3 separate regions of the Homo sapiens genome follow, and all the other regions are linked to region 2. Evidence: promoter capture Hi-C in 16 types of primary human blood cells and fetal thymus (Javierre and others, 2016). All regions are on one chromosome and are shown on one strand. Each heading gives the region's core, a stretch centred on a gene start or on the middle of the fragment in contact. The rest is flanking DNA. Distances are from core to core; before and after follow the strand shown. Region 1 overlaps GLI2 (GLI family zinc finger 2). Region 2 holds the start of GLI2 (GLI family zinc finger 2). Region 3 overlaps GLI2 (GLI family zinc finger 2).

The links. Contacts are between HindIII fragments. The CHiCAGO score rates a contact against its expected background, and 5 or more counts as called.
Region 1: a fragment that was not itself captured here is called in contact with the fragment with the promoter of GLI2 in region 2 in 2 of 17 cell types (erythroblasts and endothelial precursors); the score reaches 5.9 in erythroblasts.
Region 3: a contact is called between a fragment that was not itself captured here and the fragment with the promoter of GLI2 in region 2, in 1 of 17 cell types (megakaryocytes). The highest score is 5.8, in megakaryocytes.

Annotation. Positions count from the first base shown.
Region 1 is chr2:120,974,666-120,978,241 of GRCh38, forward strand. It overlaps GLI2 (GLI family zinc finger 2), which reads left to right. Exons shown (of 14, transcript NM_001374353.1): 9 at 310-444. Among named protein-coding and RNA genes, the nearest start is that of GLI2, 240 kb to the left of the region's middle. The HindIII fragment of the contact is 2,220 bases long and covers 864-3,083 here.
Region 2 is chr2:120,734,573-120,737,851 of GRCh38, forward strand. GLI2 (GLI family zinc finger 2) reads left to right here and starts at 1,296. Exons shown (of 14, transcript NM_001374353.1): 1 at 1,296-1,713. It overlaps LOC124906073 (a long non-coding RNA gene), which reads left to right. Exons shown (of 3, transcript XR_007087219.1): 3 at 1-278. LOC124907881 (a long non-coding RNA gene) reads right to left here and starts at 3,089. Exons shown (of 2, transcript XR_007087221.1): 1 at 1,989-3,089. RefSeq lists enhancers at 1-572, 1,212-1,381, 2,500-3,000, 3,001-3,279. The HindIII fragment of the contact is 6,148 bases long and covers 1-3,279 here.
Region 3 is chr2:120,939,900-120,943,349 of GRCh38, forward strand. The region is part of intron 3 of GLI2 (GLI family zinc finger 2); the gene reads left to right. Among named protein-coding and RNA genes, the nearest start is that of GLI2, 210 kb to the left of the region's middle. RefSeq lists an enhancer at 3,253-3,450. The HindIII fragment of the contact is 247 bases long and covers 1,447-1,693 here.

The sequences.
Region 1 (3,576 bases), core at 724-3,223, 240 kb after region 2:
GATGAAGACAAGTGTGCACTGGAGAGGAAGGAGGAAGGGCCCCAGGACAGGCCATCTGACAAGGAGAGCTGTGGGCGGGGCTGAGTTGAGGAAAGGAGCTAAAAAGGCTGATGAGTGTGTGTGTGTGTGTGTGTGTGTCTGCATGCATGTGTTGTGTGTGTGCACACACACCTGTAACACACACACTTGCATCCACACCTGTAACAGCCCAGGGTCCTTGGCACAGAATGCATGGGACTAACAGCGACCTCTTTTCAGGGCCAGGTGTCTGGACACGGCTCATGTGGGTGTGCCCTTCCCCTCTCCCAGGAGCAGCTGGCTGACCTCAAGGAAGATCTGGACAGGGATGACTGTAAGCAGGAGGCTGAGGTGGTCATCTATGAGACCAACTGCCACTGGGAAGACTGCACCAAGGAGTACGACACCCAGGAGCAGCTGGTGCATGTAAGCTTTTGAACCCCAGCAGCCCGCCAACCGGGGCACGGCCCAGGCCATGCAGGATGCTGAGCCTTCCAGGGCCTCTACTAGACAGAAGGGGCTGGAGGAAGAGACCCCCAGAGATGCCTGGGCCACATCCCCTGCAAGTGGGAGGCATAATTACTTATGTGTGTCCTGCCTGTTTTTAAGATGGCTTCCAATACATATGTAATACAAACAATTAAAAGAAAAAATAAGTAAATGAGACTGTCAGGGAAAAGAGAACAATAAAGTGAAACCAGGAATAGAGTTAGTATTAAAAACCGAGTGCTTTGAGCTATATTCTATATACACATTTTTTTTTTCTGAGATTCCTAATAGCCAGTGCAAAGAGGGAAATACGATTAGTTAAACCAGCCAGTATCTACACAATAATAAGTGAAAGAAGCTTCTCCCATGAAGGAAGGAGTTGATCCTTTCCTTTTGGGGACTATTCACAGATACCCAGTGGATATGGGTGCAGGTGGGCGTCTACACCCAGATCAGAGAGGAGGTTGCTTAACAGTGCCTGAGTACTGACAGCTCAGGTGATTAGAGATGACCATGGGAGCCGGCGAGACCTTCAGGATATGCCTCTTGGTCCTCATTCCAAACTCTCATACTGCAGCGTCCCTTATATGGCAGTTAGGGGTGATGTGTGCAATGTGCAGAGCAGAGGCTTGGCACGGGAGACACCTGGCTCCAAACCTGTCCCCACCACAACCAGCTGAGTGGTTCTGAGCAAGTGACTCCACCTCTGTGAGCTTCATTTGTTTCCTATAAAGGGGGTTGATGCTACCCCACAGGAGGGTCAATCATGTTTGTCAGCACTTAGTGCCTTGCAGACATTCCGCACCTAGCAGCTCCCTCCTTCCTCCTCCTGCCTGTTCCCCACACCAGCCCTGAGTGGTTCTCTCTTCTCCATCCAGAGAAGAACTTAAATTCAAGAAAGCCACCTCCCAACTCCCCAGCACATGCTCCTTGGTGAGTGAGTGTCTATAAAGATGAACCCACTAAATTAGTAGCTCGATTGCTGGGAAGAGCAGACACACACGCACGTGCACACACATGCACACACACACATGCACGCGTCTCCGATTCATATTCAGAAGCTGTCCAGAGGCGCTTGCTTCTCCCCAGCTCTGTGAACTTAGCATTTAGGACACGCCGACTCCCTCTGCTTCTTCCACTTATGCAACTTGCTCACAAATACCGTAGGTTTCTTTTGTGTTGGAGTTTGTCCTCCCAAACACAGTTCTCACCCAGAAGGCCAGAATTTCCCAGCAAACGAATGCAGCTGGTGAAGCAGGGTCTTATCTAACCCCTTCTGGATCTCAAACTTAATTTTTCAACTTGTACCACCTCTTTGGGGTAAACAAGCCCTAGATGGAGCAGGGACCGTGGAGCTGTGAGTTGCAGAACAAATCAGTTAGATGAAAGGAGGAGAGAGGGACAGTCTCTCAGGCCAGGGGAAGGCCAAAGCCAGAGCATGCAGATGAGGATGTCAAAGACGTGCTCTGTGATAAGTGGGTCAGCCCCAAAGAGCAGGCACGGAATTCCTCAGATGAATGCGGAGGGTCCCCAAACTGGGAGGAGGGCTTTAGCCAGGGGCTTCTGCCTGTGCCCTGGACTGTCCTGGAGCTATAGGTGGCCACCTCCACCAGGCCCTGGAAAAAGCAGACCCCTTCACCCAGCTCTGTCTGTCTGTCTCTCTCTGTTTCTCTCTGCTCCCTGGAAAGATGGATGGAGCAGGCGCACAGGCGAGCTGGAGCCCCTGGTCGATTATTAACAATTTGTTGCTAAGTAAACCAATAAGAAAAAAATGAAAGCCATTGTCAGGAAGCATTTTTATCATTTGAAAGGCTTTAAAAATGGAAAGTGAGGCTAATATGATAAGATTTCCCTGGAAGTTCAAAGCGCTGGAGATTTCACATGCTCCAGCAGGGGCATCTGTACGCGTGACAGTTGGGCGAGTCGCACAGGGCATGAGGGCCTGGCAGTTTTCTGTCTTCTGGGGCAAGGTGCTGCCAGTGCCTGATGCTTGGCTCTTGGGACAGCCTCTTTTGGTGGCAGAGTTCCACAGCAGAATGTCCAGCAGAACAATATTACAGGCCACAAATGCCAGCTATCCATGTAATTTACATTTCCTAGGAGTGCATTTAAAAGTAAAAAGAAACAGGTGAAGTTAATTTTAATATTTTTTATCCAGCCCAATATATCTGAAATATCATTTAGCAGGTAGTCAATAGAAAAGAAAGTTATTGAGATATTGTATATTCTTTTTTTTCCATTCTAAGTCTTTGAAACTGGTGTGTAGTTTGCACTTCTAGCCCATCCCAGCTCAGGCCAGCCACATTTCAAGTGTGCAAGAGCCCCACATGGGGCAAGTGGTCACTGCATTAGACAGTGTGGGTCTAGAGGTTGTGGGAGGGGGGCTGGGAGGAAGTGAAGACGGGGGAGGAAACTGAGAACAGAGGAGGAAGGGGAGGCCTCTAAGACCTGAGTGTCCTGGCCTCGCCACCAGGCTGGGGAAGTAAACCCAGCCTTACCCGAGATACGCGGCAGGGTTAGTCGTGCTGCGCTGGCTGTCCCAACTCACTTGCCTGGGGCCGTTTTCTCCCAGGATAAGCTTCACACAGTGCCCAGAGCCCACCATTAAGGTCAGTTCTGGCTCCACCACGCCGACTGCCAGGGCCCTGTGCAGGCCACTGAACTCTCTGTGCCTTTGTGGAAAGGGGACAAAGCCATTATCTCATGGGTCAATGCCAAAAATAGAGATAAGCATGTGTTATTTTTCTATTGAAACAAAATATGTTATTTACAAACCTCTGAAACAATAGGGGCAAGCTTAGGAGAGGCTTCTCATGCACCCACTACGGGCACGTTTGCCTCGCTGCGGTTAGTGCCTACTGTTTGCAGCCTGGGAGCGTCATCACACCAGAGCCCAGGCTGCGGTGCACAGGATGGCTTTGCCCAATATAGACGGTCACTTTGAGGACTGATTGGAAAATGCAGGGCAGATAAGCGGCACGCAGTAGGCCTTCATTTAAGGGCAGCTAGTGATGATTCATGAGGAGGCGTGGCCCGGCTCGTAGGGGTGGTCTTGTTGGGTCAGTGGTC
Region 2 (3,279 bases), core at 46-2,545:
GCTGGTCTTGAACTCCTGACCTCAGGTGATCCCCGTGCCTCGGCCTCCCAAAGTGCTAGGATTACAAGCGTGAGCCACCGCGCCCGGCCCAACAGGGCAAATTTAACTGAACTTACAGTACAACCACCCGAAGCTCTGGGAGGATGGCAGAGTGCTCTGACCTTAGACTAGTTACTTAACTTTTTAAAGCATCAGACTTCCCACCTGTAAAAACACGAGAAGAGAACCTTCCTTACAGAGCTGTGAAAGTCCAATAATACAAAGAAAATATAACATCACCTGGCACTTGGTAGAGTGTTCTACAAACGTTAGGAAGAATAAAACCAGAAATTCCCCCCAAGACCCTCTTCGGGTGAGGCCCAGGGGCCCTGGAGAGGGTGGCAGGCCCGGGGGTGTGGGGAGGACACTTTAGCCAGCTGCCCCCAATTCTCCTCCAAGCCTGGCGGCCCAGTTCCGGGCTGTGGTGTGGCTTGAGGGCCCAGGGCTCCTCACTGAGCTTGCTTAAGCAAGTTCTTTCACACACAGCCCCATATACACTTTGGCTAGAAAATTCAATGAGGAGTTTTTTCTTCCTTCTTTCTCTGTTGTTGTTGGGTTCTGATTACTTCCATCTGGCTTCAGCGGCTCGAGTGGAGTCTCTAAAACACACAACACAACAAAACAAAAACCCACCCTGCAAGCCACATGCACCAAACCTAGAAGGCTGCTTCGTTTCTCGCCAGCGTGTGCTCAGATGGCGACGAGGGCTAGCGGCGGCGGGGGACGCCTCAGGACCCCCGGCACCTGCGCTCGCTGCCCGCGGGAAGAGGGTCCGCGTGGACCCAGCCCCCGCGTCCCTTCTCTGGCGTCCCCGGCTTCCGCGCGGGCGTCCAGAGAAGCGGGCGCCCTGGGAACAGCGACCCAGGCATCTCCCCGAGGAGGGAAGTGGGAGGTGGGGAGGGCGGGGGGATTTCAGAGATTGAAAACAGAGCAGCCCTTGCCCCTCAGCTCCGGAGCTCATCTGACTTGAGTTAGCGACACCCCCAACCCCCCCCCCCACACCTAGTCGTCTAAAAAAAGTGTCGGAGATTGGCGCGTCCTTTGGTTCCTTTCTCGAACTTTCCTTGTAGGTGCGTTTTCTTTCCTTGGTGCTGGGTGGGGAGAGTCCCTGTGCTCCCCCTTTCCCCTCCCCCCGCCCCGGCGGCGTTCGGGTCCCCCTGCGTCCCCCGGCAGGGAGCGGGCGGGCTGGCTGGCGGGTTCTTGGGGCCCGGGTGTGCCCGCACCGTGCGCGCGGGGGCGCTGCGCAGTCCGGCGGCGCTGATGGATTGCAGAAGTGCCGGCGCTTGCCAGCCGAGGCAGCACGGCTCCGCGGACTTTTTTTCAAACTCCCATCAATGAGACTTCGAGGAGGAGCGGGCGGCGGCGGCGGCTGCGACTGCGAACGCGGAGGAAGGCCAGGAGCCGCAGGAGGAGCCGGAGGAAAGAGCTTGGGCCGCGCGGCGCGCCGCAGCCTCGGGGAGCCGCCTGCTCGCCGGCGGTAGGGGCTGCGCGGCGCCCGCCCGCCTCTCGGTCCCCTCTCTTGCCTGGCCCGCCCCGCCCCGGCTGGCTGGAGCCCCGGCACAAGGCAGCCAGCCGAGGGTCGCCGCGCCAGCCAAGGTGGGATGGGGGCCCACAGCCACCGCCCGGCGCCCGAGAGGCCACCTGCGTGCTAGAGGCAAACTTTTGTCTCTCTCGGTAAAGTTGCATTGGCCTTCTTTTGCTTGCTTTTCGTGACGAAGCGCCTCCCACCTCGGCCAAGCGCGGGCCGACTGGGATGCTGCGCCGTCTCGGGGGGTCCCTCGGCCGGGTACCGGCGCCTAGGCCTTGGGATCGGGGCCCTGGGCTTCGGGGGACTAGAGGCTAGTAGGCGCGACCCCGCCTGGGGCTCTGGACGAGCAGGGCGGGGACGTAAGGAGAGTCCTGGGGCTTGGAGCTCGTGGCCAGAGGTCGATGTTGCACCCTCTCCCTACCTGGGGGAGAGCACCACTCTTCTCGGGGTGCACAGCGAGCCGGCCTCCGCGCGCCGGCGGGGGTCTGTTTTTTCAGGGGGTGGAGGGTGGGATCGGAGGCTGGGATGCTCCGAAGCTGCCGTAGGTGGGCATGGGAGCGTGTCTGCGGGCGTACTGAGCGCGGAGGGGCTGCAGCCAGCCACTTGAGAACTTCGAACTCCACTTCTCCGCGCTGCGCGTCCCGGAGCCCTGCCTTTCTTTCTTCCTTCCTCAATCCTTCCTCCCCCTCGCCCGGCCCGGCCGCCCCCTCCCCCTCTGCTGGGCTCTCCTCCTCGGCCCCCCCTCTTTGCCTCTCTTCTCCTCCTCTCCTGCCCTCGGCCCTGAGATCCGCTTGACTTCCCAAAGGGATCCGCACGTAATCCTTTGCCGGGTCCTCCGGTTCCCCCTTCCACCTCACTTTCATCCCTGCCCCCCTACTCATCGTCTCTCCCCACCCCCGACAATCTCTCAACAAGTATATTTGCTGAGGAATTTGAAAAATCCACTACTGCAACTTGATCTGTATGTGATGGATGGGGAGAGGCGCGGAGAGAGTTGGGCGCCAATCCTATTAAGGGTTTAGAGAGGGGAGTCTTTTCCCCGGACGGGGCGGGGGCGGGGAGCTGGGAGGGAGCGTGTGCTTGCGTGTGTGAGTGTGAGCGCGCCCGCCGCGCTGGAGAGCTGGGAGTCCACCCAGCTCGGCGCCTTTTCAGCCCGGCGGTAACTGCTGTCATTTCCTAGGAAACCCGACTTTTACCGCGCGGGGAGCTGGGGATGGAGCCCGTGCGCCTCACCCTGGGTGATCGGTCGCTGAGGCTCTCGGGGACCTCGAGCCCCCCCGAGGGTGCCTCTTTCCACTACCTTCTCTTTTGTGTAATTGTTCTGTGGCTCCTAGAGTTGATCCCAGCTGGAAAAGTAGACCTGTCCCTACTGTCTGGTCCCGCGCCCTGGGAGTCTTGTAGGCGTCCCTCTGTCCCCCAGCCCGGGCATCCCGCTCGGTGCGCGACCTCTGGCACGGGCTTTGCAGCTCGGTGGCCGCAGCGGTGTCCCGGGCCCCCTCTCCGCCGCTCTTGCCGGGCGTGTGAAGGTTTAATCCCGACAGCTTCAGATAAAGGGAGCAGTTGTAAAACGCTCATAGGCTGTTTGCAGACGAGGCTCTGGGGGATGTAGGAGAATTTGAAAGTAAACGTTTCCCTCGCAAGCAGCATAAAATAGTGTTTAAACAAATATTGTATTGGCATGCTCAGGGGGCTCGGTGCCAAAAAGTAAAGTA
Region 3 (3,450 bases), core at 320-2,819, 210 kb after region 2:
CCTTGCCCTGTATCCTTGTGATATCCTTGCCCCATCACTTTGGAGGTGATGGCCTCTACATTTTAATTTTTGCCAAAATGGCTCTTTTCTGTGATTCTAATTTTCTGTTTCCCTTATTGCTAATGAACCTTGAGTGTTCTTTCACATGCTTATGGGCCACTAATGTTTCCTTCTTGGGAAATGTCTGTTGGGCTATTTTGCCCATTTTTCTATGAGGTCGTCTTTTTCCCATTATTTGAATAAGTATTTTGCACACTAAGGTTACTCATTATGTGGTTAGCAACATGTGTTGTGAATATCCTCTCCCAGTTCGTGCCTGGTCTCTTCACTGCCTTGATGGCAGGTTTGGGTGAAGAGAAGTTCCCATTGTAAAATAGCTCAGGTAGGTTACCGACATTTCTACTATGTTTTTCCCTGCATGTTCTCCTCCCACCCAGATGTCTGGTCAGACCTTCAGCCTCTGGACTATAGTGGTTGTTCCCCAATACAACATGTCCTTATTCAGCTATTCTCCCATCTCAGAACACCAGGCCTATACTACTCACCACCTCCATTCCATTCTCTTATAAGAGTCTGGGCACAGTTCAGATGCCACCTCCTGCAGGAAGCCCTCTCAGATTGCACCAACAGAGTGGGTGAATTATTTTCCTCCCACCCCTCTTCCTGCTCCAGCACCTTGTATACTGTTAGAAGGCTATAGTCAGTGTCCATTCTCTCTCTGTGACCCCAGAGGTCCTGGCATGGTGATTCGGCCAAAGCACCAGTGTGAACTATGGGATTGAGGGCCTGTGATTTCCTGAGCTCGTAACTGGTCTTGGGAATGCCTGCCAAGCAGCAGCACCCTGTCTTACCATCACCATGGCTTCATGGGCACTCAGGGGGTCTGCTGAGATCTGTGCACTTGTGGATTCAGAGTAGACCTTGGGAATGTGGGGCATAGCACTTGTCAGTCAGGTTTGCAGCCACCTGCCCCCTCACTACCTGGGTGCATGCGGGGCCCTGGCCGGGTCTGTCTCAGAACCCCAGCTCCCCACACCTGCTCCCTCACTACCTGGGTGCATGTGGGGCCCTGGCCAAGTCGGCCTCAGACCCCCAGCTCCCCACCATCAGTGCCATCAGAGGCCCATGCTCAGTAAACATCAGCTGATCCGGGGGAGTGACGTGTGGACGCAGACACAGATCAGCAATGAATGTCTGCAAACTGCGGCCTCAGCTCCCGTACACAGAGCCTCCCCATGAGGACAGACTGCCACCAGACACACAGGAGAGTGCAGATTGATAAAAGACATGGACTGCGCTTCAGTTTGAGGAAGGGACAGTTCTCCATTGTTTTCCAAAAGAATTTGCTGTATGGCTCTTAAAAAATGCAAATCCCCTTAGTACATTTTGGAAAGGACTTGATTTCTAGAACTTTTTAAAACAAATGTATGGGAAACATGGTAAGCAAGCTTGCCAGTGTACAGTTTCACCTACAAAACCAAACAACAAAACTCAAACCAACAAACGAAAACCCTGGGGAGGAGATTGAATTCCATCCAGAGGAGCGTTCTGGAGCTCTGTTTCTATTTGTCGGTAGAGCCGAGGGTGGCAGGAGCTGGCCTTGCTCTCCAGGGAGGCCCTGGGAGAGCAGACACATGCACGCCCTGTCCTGGCAGTAAGAAGTTCCAGTTTGGGGAGGAAGAGATGCAGGGCAAGCTTTGGGGACTCCAGCTTCCTTTCCAGCAGGTCAGTGGGCCCAGAGGACGCCTGCCCAGCATTTCTGAGGAAGTGGGCACCTGGTCCTGAGCAGCTCCGCAACAGCAAAAAGGTCCCAGTGTCTCCACTCTGGAGCTCCGTGGACCCACCCATGGCCCTGTGATCCTGGTGGGTGGTAGGCATCTTGGCCCAAAGGCAGGGCTGGTGTACACAAGCCAGCGGTTCCGAGGCAGGAGGAAATGGCATGCTGGGGCTGTGTGCTGGGTGGATTCTGGCTATGGGGAGTCAGTGACCATGAAATCCAGGCGGCAGGGGGGAAAGCCCGCTCCACAGCCCTGTGCACATGGGGATGGGAACGCAGGACTCAGACACCTTCCTCCACCCAGCACAGGAGTTCCCCTACCCTGCCAGCCTGCCTCAAAGGGAGCATCTACTGGAACCTGGTTATTCCGAGCAATAAATAGGAGCCCTGCTAAGAGTTTAGTCTCAGAAGAACGATGGCACTAGTGACGGTGATGTCTGCCACCTCCCTAGGGCCAACTCTAGGCCAATGCAACATGCTTTCCATGACGAGTTCATTTCCTGGGGCTGCTGTAACACGGTACCACGAACTCAGTGGCTTCAAACAATAGAAATATGTTCTCTCGGTTTCAGAGGTCAGAAGTCCAAAATCAGTATCACTGGAACAAGATCGAGGTGTCACCAGGGCTGTGCACCCTCAGAGACCCCCAGGGGAGACTCTGTCCTTGCCTTTCCCAGCTTCTGGTGCTGCCAACTTTCCTTGGCTCCTGGCCATTTCCCTGTAGTCTCTGTCTCCCTGTCGCATGGCCATCTCATCTTCTGTGTCTCAGATCTTACTCTGCTGTCTAAAGACCCCATGATGGCATGTAGGGCCCACTCAGGTAACCCATAATCTCCTCATCTCCAAATCCTTGTCTTAATCACATCTGTCAAATCCCTTTTCCCAGTAAGTTCTTGTTCACAGGTTCCGGGGATAGAACATGGACATATCTCTGGGAGATCTCATGAGCCCCCCACGTGCCTTCCCTCTGCTCCTCACAACAGATTTGTAAGATCACTGTCGTAACTGTTCAGAGACGGCACATACGTGCTCCCAGGCAGGAGTGAGCTGAGGTGAGCCGGGACCCATGTCTTCTGCAGTAGTGTCTGTGCTCTTCCCTGGACACGCTCCCTGCTTTATTCATTCATTCATTCACTCATTCGTTCACGCCCTCACTCATTCATTCATTCATTCGTTCACGCCCTCTTTCATTCATTCATTCATTCATTCATTCACTCATTCGTTCACACCCTCACTCACTCATTCATTCATTCGTTCACACCCTCACTCACTCATTCATTCATTCGTTCACGCCCTCACTCACTCATTCATTCATTCATTCATTCAGCACACACGTATTTGAGCATGCTGTATGTCCCTGGCATGTGCGGAGCCAGGTGCAGGGCCAGCGTATGAACAGAAACGGATACAGGAGACAGGAGGCCTGTGAGCTCACAGCTGAGGATATCTGGTCATCAGCTGAGATGGACGTGCTCAGGTCAGAGGAAGGAGCCACCTAACACAGAAGCACCGTAGGAGGATCCTGACCTTGACCTGGGGCTAGGGGGCACCTTGGGTGAGAGGTCCCTGAGCTGGCACCTCTGGGAGGAGAACAGGAGTTAACTGGGGGAAGGGATGAAGAGGGGAAGGGCATGACTGGAGGTGCAGACATCAAAGGGCAAAGCTGTGAGAGG